Linked DNA regions of Homo sapiens: all the other regions are linked to region 3. Evidence: promoter capture Hi-C in 16 types of primary human blood cells and fetal thymus (Javierre and others, 2016). All regions are on one chromosome and are shown on one strand. The core of a region is centred on a gene start or on the middle of the fragment in contact, and the rest is flanking DNA. Distances in the headings are between cores, read along the strand shown. Region 1 overlaps CRTC3 (CREB regulated transcription coactivator 3). Region 2 has its middle 22 kb from the start of CRTC3. Region 3 holds the start of ZNF774 (zinc finger protein 774). Region 4 overlaps IQGAP1 (IQ motif containing GTPase activating protein 1).

Evidence for each region. Contacts are between HindIII fragments. The CHiCAGO score rates a contact against its expected background, and 5 or more counts as called.
Region 1: a fragment that was not itself captured here is called in contact with the fragment with the promoter of ZNF774 in region 3 in 1 of 17 cell types (monocytes); the score reaches 5.1 in monocytes.
Region 2: a contact is called between a fragment that was not itself captured here and the fragment with the promoter of ZNF774 in region 3, in 1 of 17 cell types (endothelial precursors). The highest score is 6.3, in endothelial precursors.
Region 4: a fragment that was not itself captured here is called in contact with the fragment with the promoter of ZNF774 in region 3 in 13 of 17 cell types (endothelial precursors, naive CD8 T cells, megakaryocytes and 10 more); the score reaches 12.5 in endothelial precursors.

The regions. Positions count from the first base shown.
Region 1 is chr15:90,550,973-90,554,197 of GRCh38, forward strand. All of the region lies in intron 2 of CRTC3 (CREB regulated transcription coactivator 3), which reads left to right. Among named protein-coding and RNA genes, the nearest start is that of CRTC3, 23 kb to the left of the region's middle. The HindIII fragment of the contact is 3,014 bases long and covers 1-2,971 here.
Region 2 is chr15:90,506,614-90,509,939 of GRCh38, forward strand. No RefSeq gene overlaps it. Among named protein-coding and RNA genes, the nearest start is that of CRTC3, 22 kb to the right of the region's middle. The HindIII fragment of the contact is 3,132 bases long and covers 1-3,032 here.
Region 3 is chr15:90,350,778-90,353,843 of GRCh38, forward strand. ZNF774 (zinc finger protein 774) reads left to right here and starts at 1,507. Exons shown (of 4, transcript NM_001004309.3): 1 at 1,507-1,634. The HindIII fragment of the contact is 4,226 bases long and covers 1-3,066 here.
Region 4 is chr15:90,487,820-90,490,843 of GRCh38, forward strand. All of the region lies in intron 33 of IQGAP1 (IQ motif containing GTPase activating protein 1), which reads left to right. Among named protein-coding and RNA genes, the nearest start is that of CRTC3, 41 kb to the right of the region's middle. The HindIII fragment of the contact is 1,328 bases long and covers 867-2,194 here.

The sequences.
Region 1 (3,225 bases), core at 215-2,714, 200 kb after region 3:
TTTCAGGTTGTGTAGGGCAGAACAATGAGATGAACAAAGCACCGATCTGTCCTCTACTTCCTTTTTCTGAAAGGAAGAGGTGAAGTTTCTTCATGCCATCTGGACAGTGTTGGGGTTACATAATTAGACTCCTCCCGACTGAGTCTCCTTAGGTAAATCACAGAATTCTCTGACTCATCTAGAAGTGATGATAATGACGGTTACTTGATAGAGTTGTTCATAAGGATCTAATGAATGCGGAATAAATGCATATCTCTGGAAACTAAAGTACTAAGCAAAAGTCAGTAGTATAGTAATACAAATCGTGCTTAGGAACAATTGTGAAGTAGGAAGTTTGTCTTTATCACTTTCTACCTCTTTTTTTCTGTGCTTCTTACTGTCTCCCCCTCACCGCTGCTGTCCAATATGTTAGTCACTAGTCATTTGTGGCTATTTCCATTAATTAATTGTATTTAATTAAGATTAAATACAATTAAAAATTCAGTTCCTTGGTTGCATTAAGCCACATTTCAAGTGCTCAGGAGGCACATGTGGCTGGTGGCCACCGAACTGGACAGCACTGCCCCCTATTTTGAGAAGTGGGAGAGTTCTTGGAGGAGGTAGGCATTCTAATGCTGCGTTCTAGGTCCCAGTTTCAGCACCGGATTAAGTCCTCACCTTCCCTTAAGAGCCCAGGGCTTTAAGGTGATCTTCCCTTCCCTGCTCGTCTTTATCAGCCAATCAGATTTCTATGCCTTGGTTGAAGTGTTTCTTTTAGTGGTAAGCAAAGCACCCTGATTAAGTTCATATCAAAAACTTTGAACCTCCACTTAACTGCTCTGAGTACAAGCATTTCAAAAAAGGATGCCCCCAAAATCAGATCTCCGCTTGGTAGAATTTCTCACTGTAAAATGTGGCGGTTCCTCTGAAAGGGTGTGTGGTAAGGCGCGCCCTTACATTACATTACATTACACACACGCACACACACACACGCACACACACACACACACACACACAAATGTCTTCTAAAGGAACAGACTGACCCTGTGAAGGTGTTGGGTGTCGTGGTCTCCTGCTCCGTCCCTACTCCAAGAGTGGTGTTAACTACTTTTCTTTTTCACTCTTCATTAATTGATTAATAAATAATTGAATTGGCAAATGTTTCCCGAGCGCCTGCTGTGGCAGCAGGTCTGTATTAGGCACAGGACACATAGAAACGAAGAAATTGGCCCTTCCACAGAAGTCAGCAGCCCAGTTAGTCCTCGTTTAACACCATCAACTCTGTGTCCAGTACTGCGGCCCGAGCAGCCGGCATCTGGCCACTGCCCCTCGGTGAAGAAGGCTGCTCTGCCTTAAGCCACAAATGACCTTGGAATCTCAGAGACTATTCCAAAATGGTTCTGTCTTGAGTCACAGATCAGAGAGTCTCCACAGAGATCTCAAAGTAGCTTCTTGTGTCATCTAATGGTCTTCAGAAATTCTGTCTCTGTTTCTGTGGTCAGCTCCCAGCTGCTCATTATTCCTGATCACCCCTCATCTAGTTCTTTTGTCTCCTGGAGTATGGGCAGTGACTTGTGGAAACTCTGCTTCCTTTCGTACTCCCTAGGATGAGCTGTGGTGTGATAAAGATGACTCGGGCAGCAGGCAAACCTGGTTTGAGTCCTGGTTCTGCCACTCTTTTAATCTATGATTTGGGCATTTCCTCAACTATCTCAGTCTAGTTTTTTGTATGTGAAGTGGGGATTATAATAGTAATTATCCATAGGATAAACTGAGCTAAGGGGAGGCATGAGGCCTTGACCAAGGGGGTTTTGGAGCTGGATTGTGTTAAGGGAACTGGGGTGTAAAGAAAACTGATTCCTTCCCAAGCATCTAACTAAATTCTGATCATGTGTAGTCATTCTTCATAGTTTGTGGCATAGTTCTTTGCTCAGAACTTAAATGTGAGAGGGAATTTTGTTCCCAAGGTTATAATGTTATATTTTTTTCCCTTAGCCAGCCCTACTCTTGGTACAGCATGCTCTCTGCCAGCCCTGAGACAATCTGCTTTTATCCAAATACTGTTAGATGTAATGAGGCAGGGCAGTGACCTTGGGCTTCTGCATGAGATTTAGAAGGCCACATTTATAAATTATTTTAGCATGAATTATTTCCGGGAAAGATGTTCACTGATTACTAATATCATCTATTTTATGTTGTTTCTTATTTTCTTTTTCAGAGATTGACATTTTTCTGACCTTGTCTGAATTCTTTTTAAGAGTTCGTACCTCCTGAACTACATGCACTTTGCAACTCTGATTTTTGTACTGTGTCTGTGTGTGATGTGCTCACTGGTTTGCCTTTGATTTTGACTTCCAGCAGCATGTCCTTCTATTCTGCCTAAGGAAATAGTGAGAAGCACAGAGAGTTAGGGGGTTACTTAATAGTTTTGGAATGTGCATCTGTCCCGAAATAGGAGCTGTGACCAAGAATATGGTTGTCGTATTTTTAATCCATATTCGAATCATTTTTCCCTTCCTTTTTATCTAGCCGTACATGTTGAATAGAAGACTTATAGAATGAGAGAGAAAAGTAGATAACTCATGAATCTCTAATCATCTGGGATAAAGCCTTTGTTTGAAATTATAGAAGGGGCGGGGAAACGTTGGTCCCACACACTGAATTAGGAACATCTGTACCCATGAGAACTTGAGCAAGAGAACTGGAATATTGCCATTTTCATTCTGCCTCCTACGTGCTCTCAATTGTTCATGCAGTGGAGGGGCAGCAATAGCATGGATACTTGAGATCTTTAAAATACCCCTCCAAGTAATGTTTTAAAAGACTGAATCAGATTCCATTAATCGAAAATTTTCATGCCAGTAAAGTTGGAAGAGATGGGAATGTTTCCTGAGAAGTCTATCCATGGGATAAAACCAATGATCTACTTGAAAAGAAATACGACAAGTACTAAAGTGACAACATATACTTTGCCTTAAAATATTATGGCAGAAGCTTTAGGGCAGTACAGAGGCTGCATAGTGTGATGGGCAAAAGGGTCATACTCTGAATCCAAATGTGGCCTCTGCCACTTTCTAGCTGTGTGACCTTGGGCAAACCACTTAGCATGTCTTTGCCTCATTTTTCTCACCTGTAAAATGGGCATAGTTCTAATGCCAATATCAGAGTTTTGTGGAGAAGAATAAATGAGTTGTTATACATAACACCCTTAGAACAGTGGTTGGCACAAGGCAAGCACATTAGAGG
Region 2 (3,326 bases), core at 217-2,716, 160 kb after region 3:
TAACACAGTTTTTTTTTTTTTTAATCACAGAAGATATTTGGCTGTTTGGAAATATTTTTAATTGGCCTGACGAAAGAGGTGCTACTGGCATCTAGTGGGTAGAGGTGAGGGATGCCACTTGACATCTTTCAGTGCAACAGGACAGCCCACTGCAACCAAGAATGATCCAGCCTCAAATATTAATAATGCCTGGGGTGAGACGCTGCTCTTACAGATAAGGACTTAAAAAAAATCCCCATCCCATCATCACACCTAACAAATTATTTTAAAATATCAAATTATTTTAAAATATCACACCGTTTAAATATCACCATTTACATTTTTAATTTAAATTTTTAAATTTTAAAATATCACCGTTTAAATTTCCCCATTCATCTTATCATTGTTCAGTTTGTATTTTTGAATCAGGTGCCAGACAAGATCCATGCATTACATTTAGTTGATAGGTCTCTTAAATATCTTTTCCTTTTCTTTTTTTTTTTGAGACAGAATCTCACTCTGTTGCCCAGGCTGGAGGGCAGTGGCTTGATCTCAGCTCACTGCAACCTCAGCCTCCCAGGTTCAAGTGATTCTCCTGCCTCAGCCTCCCGAGTACCTGGGATTACAGGTGACTGCCACCACACCCGGCTAATTTTTTATTATTTTTAGTACAGACGGGGTTTTGCCATATTGGCCAAGCTGGTCTCAAATTCCTGACCTCAAATGATCCGCCTGCCTCGGCCTCCCAAAGTGCTGGGATTTTACAGGTGTGAGCCACCACGCCCGGCCATATATAATTTTTTGAATGCTCAAATTGTCCCCTCTTTGACCAATAAATTTCCTTCACAGTGACTGTTGAGTACTTTTGACGTGACCCTAGTAATCTTTGATAGTTTCCTTGATTTCTAGCATAAGACGTTCCAGGCTCATCTTATTGCATTTCTCAGCCCCAGACCTGGAATCCACCATTTTTCTGTGGAGCCCTGGTTACTGTTAGCGGGTAATGGTATTTCAAGGATGCAGTCTGGGTGGGTGCTAGGGGTGTTCCTCACCGTTAGATTGGTCATTGTGTCCTTTTTTTTTTTTTTTTTTTCTAGAGACAGGGTATCGTTCTGTCACCCAGGCTGGAGTTCAGTGGCGTGATCTTGGCCCACTGCTACTTCCACCTCTTGGGTTCAAGCAGTTTCTCTGCCTCAGACTCCTCAGTAGCTGGGATACAGGCATGTGCCGCCATGTCCAGCTAATTTTTGTATTTTTTAGTAGATATGGGGTTTCACTAAGTTGTCCAGGCTGATCTCAAACTCCTGACCTCAAGTGATCTCCCTGCCTCAGCCTCCCAAAGTGTTGGGTTTATGGGAGTGAGCCACCGCACCCAGCCTTTTTTTTTTTTTTCCTTGCAATGTATTTGATGCTAATCCTGTAGAATCACATTCTGGGTTTCTCATGTCATCCTGTGGATCAGACTCAGTTTCAATCTTGTGGCAAGAATACTTTGGTTTTCCTATTACATCATGTCAGGGCTTATGTTTTTATGATGTAAAGGCTGATCTTTGGATTCAGATGTTGCCAGCTTGACCCATTCATTATAATTTCCCATCGGCTTTCACCACGTATCACATGGATTCAGCAGCCACTGGTAATGGCTGCCTACATTTATTTATTTATTTATTTTACTTTTTTTTTTTTTTTTTTTTTTTTGAGACAAAGTCTTGCTCTGTTGCCAGGCTGGAGTGCAGTGGCATGAGCTCAGCTAAGAGGCAGGTTCAAGTGATCCTCCTGCCTCAGCCTCCTGAGTAGCTGGAACTACAGGCACGTGCCACCATGCCCAGCTAATTTTTTGTATTTTTATTAGAAACAGGGTTTCACCACATTGGCCAGGATGGTTTCAATCTCTTGACCTCATGATCCGCCCGACTTAGCCTCCCAAAGTGCTGGGATTACAGGCATAAGCCACTGCACCTGGCCTATTTTTTTTAGTATTTTTTCACTTTTTTTAGAGACGAAGTCTCACTATGTTGCCCAGGCTAGTCTCAGACTCCTGTGCTCAAGTGGTCCTCCTGCCTTGGCCTCCCAAGGTCCTGGGATTACAGGCGTGAACCACCATGCCCAGCCTCTTATTTCATTGGGGGTTGCAAAATGGTGATATGCTATTAATATCATTCCTTCTTTATTTAACAGAATTCTCCTTAAAAAAAAAAAAACTTCCTCTCTTCAACTATTTTGTTGCCTTGTAGAACATTCATTCAGGAACAGATGATGAGTGCTTGATTCTCTCCCTTTGTTTACTAGTTTTCAGAATAAGCTGCTTCCCTAGTGGGCTCTAAATGACCAGGGAGCCTTTGTTTTTCAAAAATCATAATGAACCCCTGGCTTTTTAATATATTCCATGTCTTTCAATCCACTGTATGTATATCGATATACATATTCATAAAAATTCTTTTTTTTCTTGAGATGGAGTCTCACTCTGTCTTCCAGGCTGGAGTACAATGGCACGATCTCAGCTCACTGCAACCTCTGCCTCCCAAGTTCAGGTGATTTCTCCTGCCTCAGCCACCCGAGTAACTGGGATACAGGCATGTGCCACCAAGCCCAGCTAATTTTGTATTTTTAGTAGAGATGGGGTTTCACCATGTTGGCCAGGCTGGTCTCAAACTCCTGACCTCAGATGATCTTGGGATTGCTGGGATTATAGCCGTGAGCCACTGCACCTGGCCTCTAGCTTTTTCTTCTTTTTTTAAATTTTTATTTATTTATTTATTTATTTATTTATTTATTTTTGAGACAGAGTTTCACTCTTGTTGCCCACAGCTGGAGTGCAATGGCACGATCTCGACTCACAGCAACCTCCACCTCCCGGGTTCAAGCAATCCCGAGTAGCTGGGATTACAGACATGCGCCATCACGGCCGGCTAATTTTTTTTTTTTTTTTTAGTAGAGATGGGGGTTTCTCCATGTTGGTCAGGCTGGTCTCGAACTCCCCACCTCAGGTGATCCGCCCTCCTCGGCCTCCTAAAGTTCTGGGATTACAGGCATGAGCCACCACATCCAGCCTAAGCTTTTTCAATGGAAAATTTTTAAAAGAGAAAAACACTTCGTGAGTTTATGACAAAACAATTTTTTAATATAAAATACTTTTACCTAATGTATGTGAGCTCAGTGAAAGGAAAAAGTGCCTTGAGTAGTAGCATTTGCCAATTCTGTGGTATGAATACTTCCCCAAAGCTGATTTCAAGCTACCAACTTGATGTTGTTGGTCACAGAAAGTAGAGCTGAGAAGAGACGCTTGCAATCAGCTCCCATGAGCTAGTATCAATTTTTTTTTTTTTTTTTTTTGAGATGGAGTTTTG
Region 3 (3,066 bases), core at 257-2,756:
CTCCACCTCCCGGGTTCACATCATTCTCCTGCCTCAGCCTCCCGAGTAGCTGGGACTACAGGCGCCCGCCACCACGCCCGGCTAATTTTTTCTATATTTAGTAGAGACGGGGTTTCACCATGTTAGCCAGGATGGTCTCGATCTCCTGACCTCGTGATCCTCCCGCCTCGGCCTCCCAAAGTGCTGGGATTACAGGCGTGAGCCACCACGCCCTGCCCCCAGAACGATCTTGAGAACAGAATGTTCCCAATAAATATCCACTGGAAAATGCACCTTATTTTTGTTGAAGGAATGGTGGAATTAGCATCAAAGGGATCTTCAACATTAACTCGGGCCGGGCACGGTGGCTCACGCCTGTAATCCCAGCACTTTAGGAAGCCGAGGCGGGCGGATCACGAGGTCAGGAGATGGAGATCATCCTGGCTAACATGGTGAAACCCCGTCTCTACTAAAAATACAAAAAATTAGCCGGGTGTGGTGGCGGGCGCCTGTAGTCCCAGCTACTCGGGAGGCTAAGGCAGGAGAATGGTGTGAACCTGGGAGGCAGAACTCGCAGTGAGCCGAGATCGTGCCACTGCACTCTAGCCTGGGCGACAGAGCGAGACTCCGTCTAAAAAAAAAAAAAAAAAAAAACTCTATGGCTGGTAATTCTAAGCGTTTTATAATACATCACAAAATGTTCTTTTATTTTTCTAAATTGCACTGAATCAACAAACGGAGTAGACAGGCACATTTTCTTCACTTTAAGGAAAGACTTTGTTGTTTTTTAGCTAGGGGCCGACCCAAAGTGATCACTGGCTCTCACATGAGACCCAGGAGCCTCCCCAGTTTGAAGCCCGATATCACATTTCCCAGAATACTTGATGCCCTCGCCCGCCTCCTCTGGCTATCAACCAGACGGAAAGGGGATGTGCCTGGGAGTTTGATGCCAAGGGAAGGATGCGGAATGTCTGTTTTCTACTAAGGGCTTCTGCTGGGCCTTTCCAATGTCCAGTTTGAGTTGGTCTGGGACCTGGCCTCCGCAAACACCCTGCAGGCTCCGGCCGCCGGGGATGAGGTGGAAGACTGGGCAGAAGAGAGGCCGCAAAGGCCCGAGGGCTGAGCTGCTCTGCGCTGGGGAGGGGCGAAGTGCCAGAGCGCGGGAGACCTCATGGTGGGCACCAGGCTGCTCCGCGGTAGGTGGGTGAGGCCAGGAGATTCACATCTGCAGATGCCACAGTGAGGATACAGCATTTAGATCCCTCGGCTCCAAACAGGCGGTTCCGGGGGACCGGTAGCTGGGGAATTGGGTTTAGCACTTTCCAACGCTTGGAACTGGACATCCACGGCTCCGAGTCCTTTGAGGTCTTGCTCGGGACTACGTTTCCCAGAAGGCTAGGCGATAATTGACAGCTCTATCAGCCTATGGACAGAGAAAAATTCTAGCCATGGAAACTGAAAAGCCAATAGCAAGAGGATGGGGGCGGTACTTTCCGGCCGCTGGCTGTCGAAGCCGGAGTCCCACCTGTGTCCCCACAGCCCTGTCACGAATCCCGGTCGGGTTCTGGGAGGCACAGCCTCGGGGTTGCGGGCCGGGTGCGGCTCGGCGGTGGAGGACTCACTTCCTGCTCCATCCCCGGCTGGGCCCTGGGGCGGTGAGTGATTCAAGGAGGGAGACCGCGGCGGCAGCGGCGCGCTGCTGAGGGGCGTGGAGGGGGCTTGCCCGCCACCCAGACGTTTTCTCAGCGGGGTTCCCGCGCTGGCCTTTGGGAGCCCCCGGGTCTTGCTGGGCTGTGGGAGAGGTAGCTGTGGTCTCTATACCGTCGGCGGGATAAGTCATTCTCTTAATCAGTTTTCTTGCTTCTCGATGGTGGTCCCAGGGTTTCAGCTGATCTGTGACCCTCTGACCGCCGCACCCCGGTTAGGGCGCGAGCACCGAGAAGAAGAACGGGGTTCGGCCCCACGCGTGCAGTCATGTTCCTATTAATAAACCCGGTGAACGCACTGGAGCTTCTCACAGTGGCACTTAGTCACAGCCCCTCAGCGCTGTGGGGCCTTTGAGGTCACCTGTGCATGGGGAAAGGGACGGGCTGGGAAACAGGGTTTCTATAACCGTGGCTAAGACGTCTCCCCTCCTCAGTGGCGCTGTCTCCAGCAAGTGGGCCCTGCAGCTGTGTTTTGTAATGAATGTAGAAATAAAAATTATACTCAAAACTCTTTTTTTTTTTTAGACGGAATTTCGCTCTTGTTGCCCAGGCTGGAATGCAATGGCGCTATCTCCTTTCACTGCAGTCTCCACCTCCCGGGTTCAGGCGATTCTCCTGCCTCAGCCTCCCAAGTAGTTGGGATTACAGGCGTGTGCCACCACACCCGGCTAATTTTGTATTCTTAGTAGAGACAGGGTTTCACCATGTTGGCCAGGCTGATCTCGAACTCCTGACCCCAGGTGATCCGCCCGTCTCGTCTTCCCAAAGTGCTGGGATTACAGTCATGAGCCACAGCACCTGGCCAATACTGAAAACTCTTATTACAATTTTTACTTTCTAATTACATTATTGTTGTTTGTTAAAGTTTTAAACCAGAGAGATGGTTTTTAGATCCTTAAAAACTCAATACTTTATAAATGACCAATAATAATGTCTGTAAATACAAAAATATTTCCCCCAAAAGTGTGTGTGTGTGTGTGTGTGTGTGTGTGTGTGTGTGTGTGTTCCAGTAGTAAATAGGTGATTTGTAGTGGGACAAAAGATGTGAAAGAGTAAAACTTCTTCACCACAGTCTGGTCCTTCCTCCCTTGAAATGCAATATTCTTTGTAGTGGGTGGTCATGCTGGCTGCATTTTTTTTTTTTTTAAGGGAGAGACAGGGGCTCACTCTGTTGCTAGGCTGGGGTGCAGTGGCGCCATCATAGCTCACTGCAGCCTGGAACTCCTGGGCTGAAGTGATCCTCCCACTTCAGCCTCCTGAGTAGCTGGGACCACAAGTGCATGCCACCATGCCTGGCTGATTTTTAAAAGTTCTTTGTAGAGAAAGAGGTCTCAATATGTTGCTGAGGCTGGTTTATTGGAAACTTTTTAAGGGAAAAAAC
Region 4 (3,024 bases), core at 281-2,780, 140 kb after region 3:
TCCCGTATATCCATCCCTTGGTATCCACAGGCGATTCTTTCCAGCACCCATTCTCCCCACCCCCGGCCAATACCAAAATCCATAGATGTTGAAGTCCCTTATATAAAATGGTGTAGTATTTGGCCGGGCATGGTGGCTCATGCCTGTAATCCCAGCACTTTGGGAGGCTGAGGTGGGTAGTTCACGAGGTCAGGAGATTGTGACCATCCTGGCTAACACGTGAAACCCCGTCTCTACTAAAAATACAAAAAATTAGCCAGGCTAGGTGGTAGATGCCTGTAGTCCCAGCTACTTGGGAGGCTGAGGCAGGAGAATGGCATGTACCCAGGAGGCGGAGCCTGCATTGAGCCAAGATCGCACCACTGCACTCCAGCCTGGGCGACAGAGCGAGACTCCGTCTCAAAAAATAATAATAAATAAATAAATAAATAAATAAATAAATAAAATGTTGTAGTATTTGCATATACTTACGTTCTCCCATATACTTTAAATCATCTCTAGACTACTTATAATACCTACTACAATATAAATGCTGTGTAAATAGTTGTTACTGTATTTTTAAAATTTGTATTATTTTGTATTGTTGTATTTTTTTTTCAAACAGTTTCAGGGTTGGTTGAAACCATGAATGTGTAGGGTTCACTGCAATTTATTGAATATTATATATTTTGAATTCTGTTACATGCCTTGGTAGATAGAAGAAAAGTACAGAATGTGGCTCCTAAACTCAGTGAACCCATGGTCTTGTTGGGGAAATGTGACATATATACCTGAAACAGTGATGAACTGTTTCAAAATTAACTATGTTACTGACTGAAAAATAAGAGAAGTTTCAGGAAAGAGGCCAGTGAAGCAGTGCATTAGGAAGCTTCCTAAAAGAAGTGGAACCGGAGCCAGATGTATAAAGGTGGAAAGGATTTGGGTGTGCATGTAAGACAAGAGAGGGCATTCGAGGCAGGAGAGCGATGTGAACAAAGGTACAAAGGAGGGAAGAGCATGATGCGACTAGACTACATGTCTAGAATGGAGCTGTGGGTGGAGGTGAGTAGTGAGAAATAAAACATGAGACCAAATTATTTAGAACTCACAAACTAGATGGGAATTTGTCACTGCAGAGATAAGGAATAAAGAGCCTCTGTAAGGTTGAAGACCATTTAATAAAAGTTAATTAATTCAGCAGTGCTATTAGAGCAGATGTAGTTGAGTCATATAGGTGTGTGATAAGGTCCAGTGGGGTGGGCAGATGGTTGGGTCCTGGCATTTTGTAGGGTTGGATGAGTCATGTCATATCTAAGACCCTTGTTTCTTTTTTTTTTTTTTTTTTAATTTGAGACAGAGTCTCACTCTCACTCAGGCTGGACTGCAGTGGCGTGATCTTGGCTCACTGCAACCTCCGCCTCCTGGGTTCAAGCGATTCTCCTGCCTCAGCCTCCCGAGTAGCTGGACTACAGGTGTGAACCACCACACCTGGCTAATTTTTGTATTTTTAGTAGAGACAGGATTTCACGATGTTGGCCAGGCTGGTCTCAAACTCTTGACCTCAAATGACCCACCCACTGTGGCCTCTCAAAGTGCTGGGATTACAGGTGTGAGCCACTGCACCCGGCCATAGACCTCTGTTCTCATTTGTCAAGTAAGGAAAGTAGGTCAAGTCATTCATTCTCAAATTTTAAGCATGGTAATCTGTTTCATTAAATGACAACTTAGCTAAAAGCCCAGTATATAGAGCAGGTACTCTGCTACTCTGGAGCTACTCTGATAGCCAGCAATAGGGCATCTGAAATCCAGCCCTATAGGACTCTGTGATGCCTCTGGCAAACTCTTGAGGCTGCACAGAGAACTATTTGGAAACCATTGTTTTCAATGAAGTCTCAGCTGTCAGTTGCTATGACTGATTACTGATTAGATATGTGTGAAAGGCAAGTAAGGACATGTAAACCAATACTTGAAACATGTTGAACCTAGAAAGAAATTTGAAATAAGGAAGGAGGAGCCAGTCTTTATTGAGAACCTAGTATGTGTTTGGTGCTCTCACCTCTGTTCTTTAATTTAATCCTTACAATATTCCCATGAGTCGAGTCTTTTCATCCTTATTTTGCAGATGAGGAAACCAAGACCCTTACAGGTTAACTGGCTAAGATCATCAGCTTGCAGTGACAGAACCGGAGGTGGATCCAGTTCTGTCTGCCTCCAAAGCTTATGCTGTTTACATTATGTGATGCAGAGTAGTCTTGACATTAGAAAAAAGGGGACTATTGGGAAAGGGAATTGCTCCAGTTAGGGGGAATTACAAGTTTGAACTATGAGCCATCCCGAATGTAAACATCCCAGTACAAACAGCTCAGAATATGGCACCAGAGCCATGGTCACAAAGATTTAGGATCTGTCAACACAGAGGCAGTCAATGAAGTATTGAGAGTAAACAGAGAGAAATGGTCACAGATCACATAGAAGTACCAAACCATGCATAGAGCAAGAAGACAGTGCAGAGAAGATGAGCAAGGTGACAGAAAAGGCTTTGGATTTTGGACAGGGGAATGGTAATTGGTGATAAGAGCAGTAAAGAAGAAAGTGCTGAAAGAACGAAACAGTGAGTGTAGATCATATGTTGGACAGGGACAGACAATGGACGGTGACTATGAAGGATGGCGACTATGAAGGATGGCAGTATCAAGGGAAGGTGTTTCCCTGTTAGATTGTGGTGTCTGCAGAATGTTTGAAAGCAGAGGCAAGGCTCGAGCATGATTCCACCTTGTGACAAAGTGACACAAAGAATTAGCAAGGATTTACTAAGCACTGGTCTTGTTGTATTAGTATAGTTATAACATTTATACAGCTATGTTTTTAATAAAATTAAATGGCTTCCATGTCTCAAAATGTGGTAGAGAAAAATGACTTTGTAGCCAGTAGAGTCCAGTCTCGGTGATTGTACCTGGAGTCCAGGAAAGAAGCCCTAAGCACCTAAGCAGTTGTGTGATTTGTTTGTTTGCTTGTTTTTTGTTTTTTTGAGACGGAGTCTCGCTC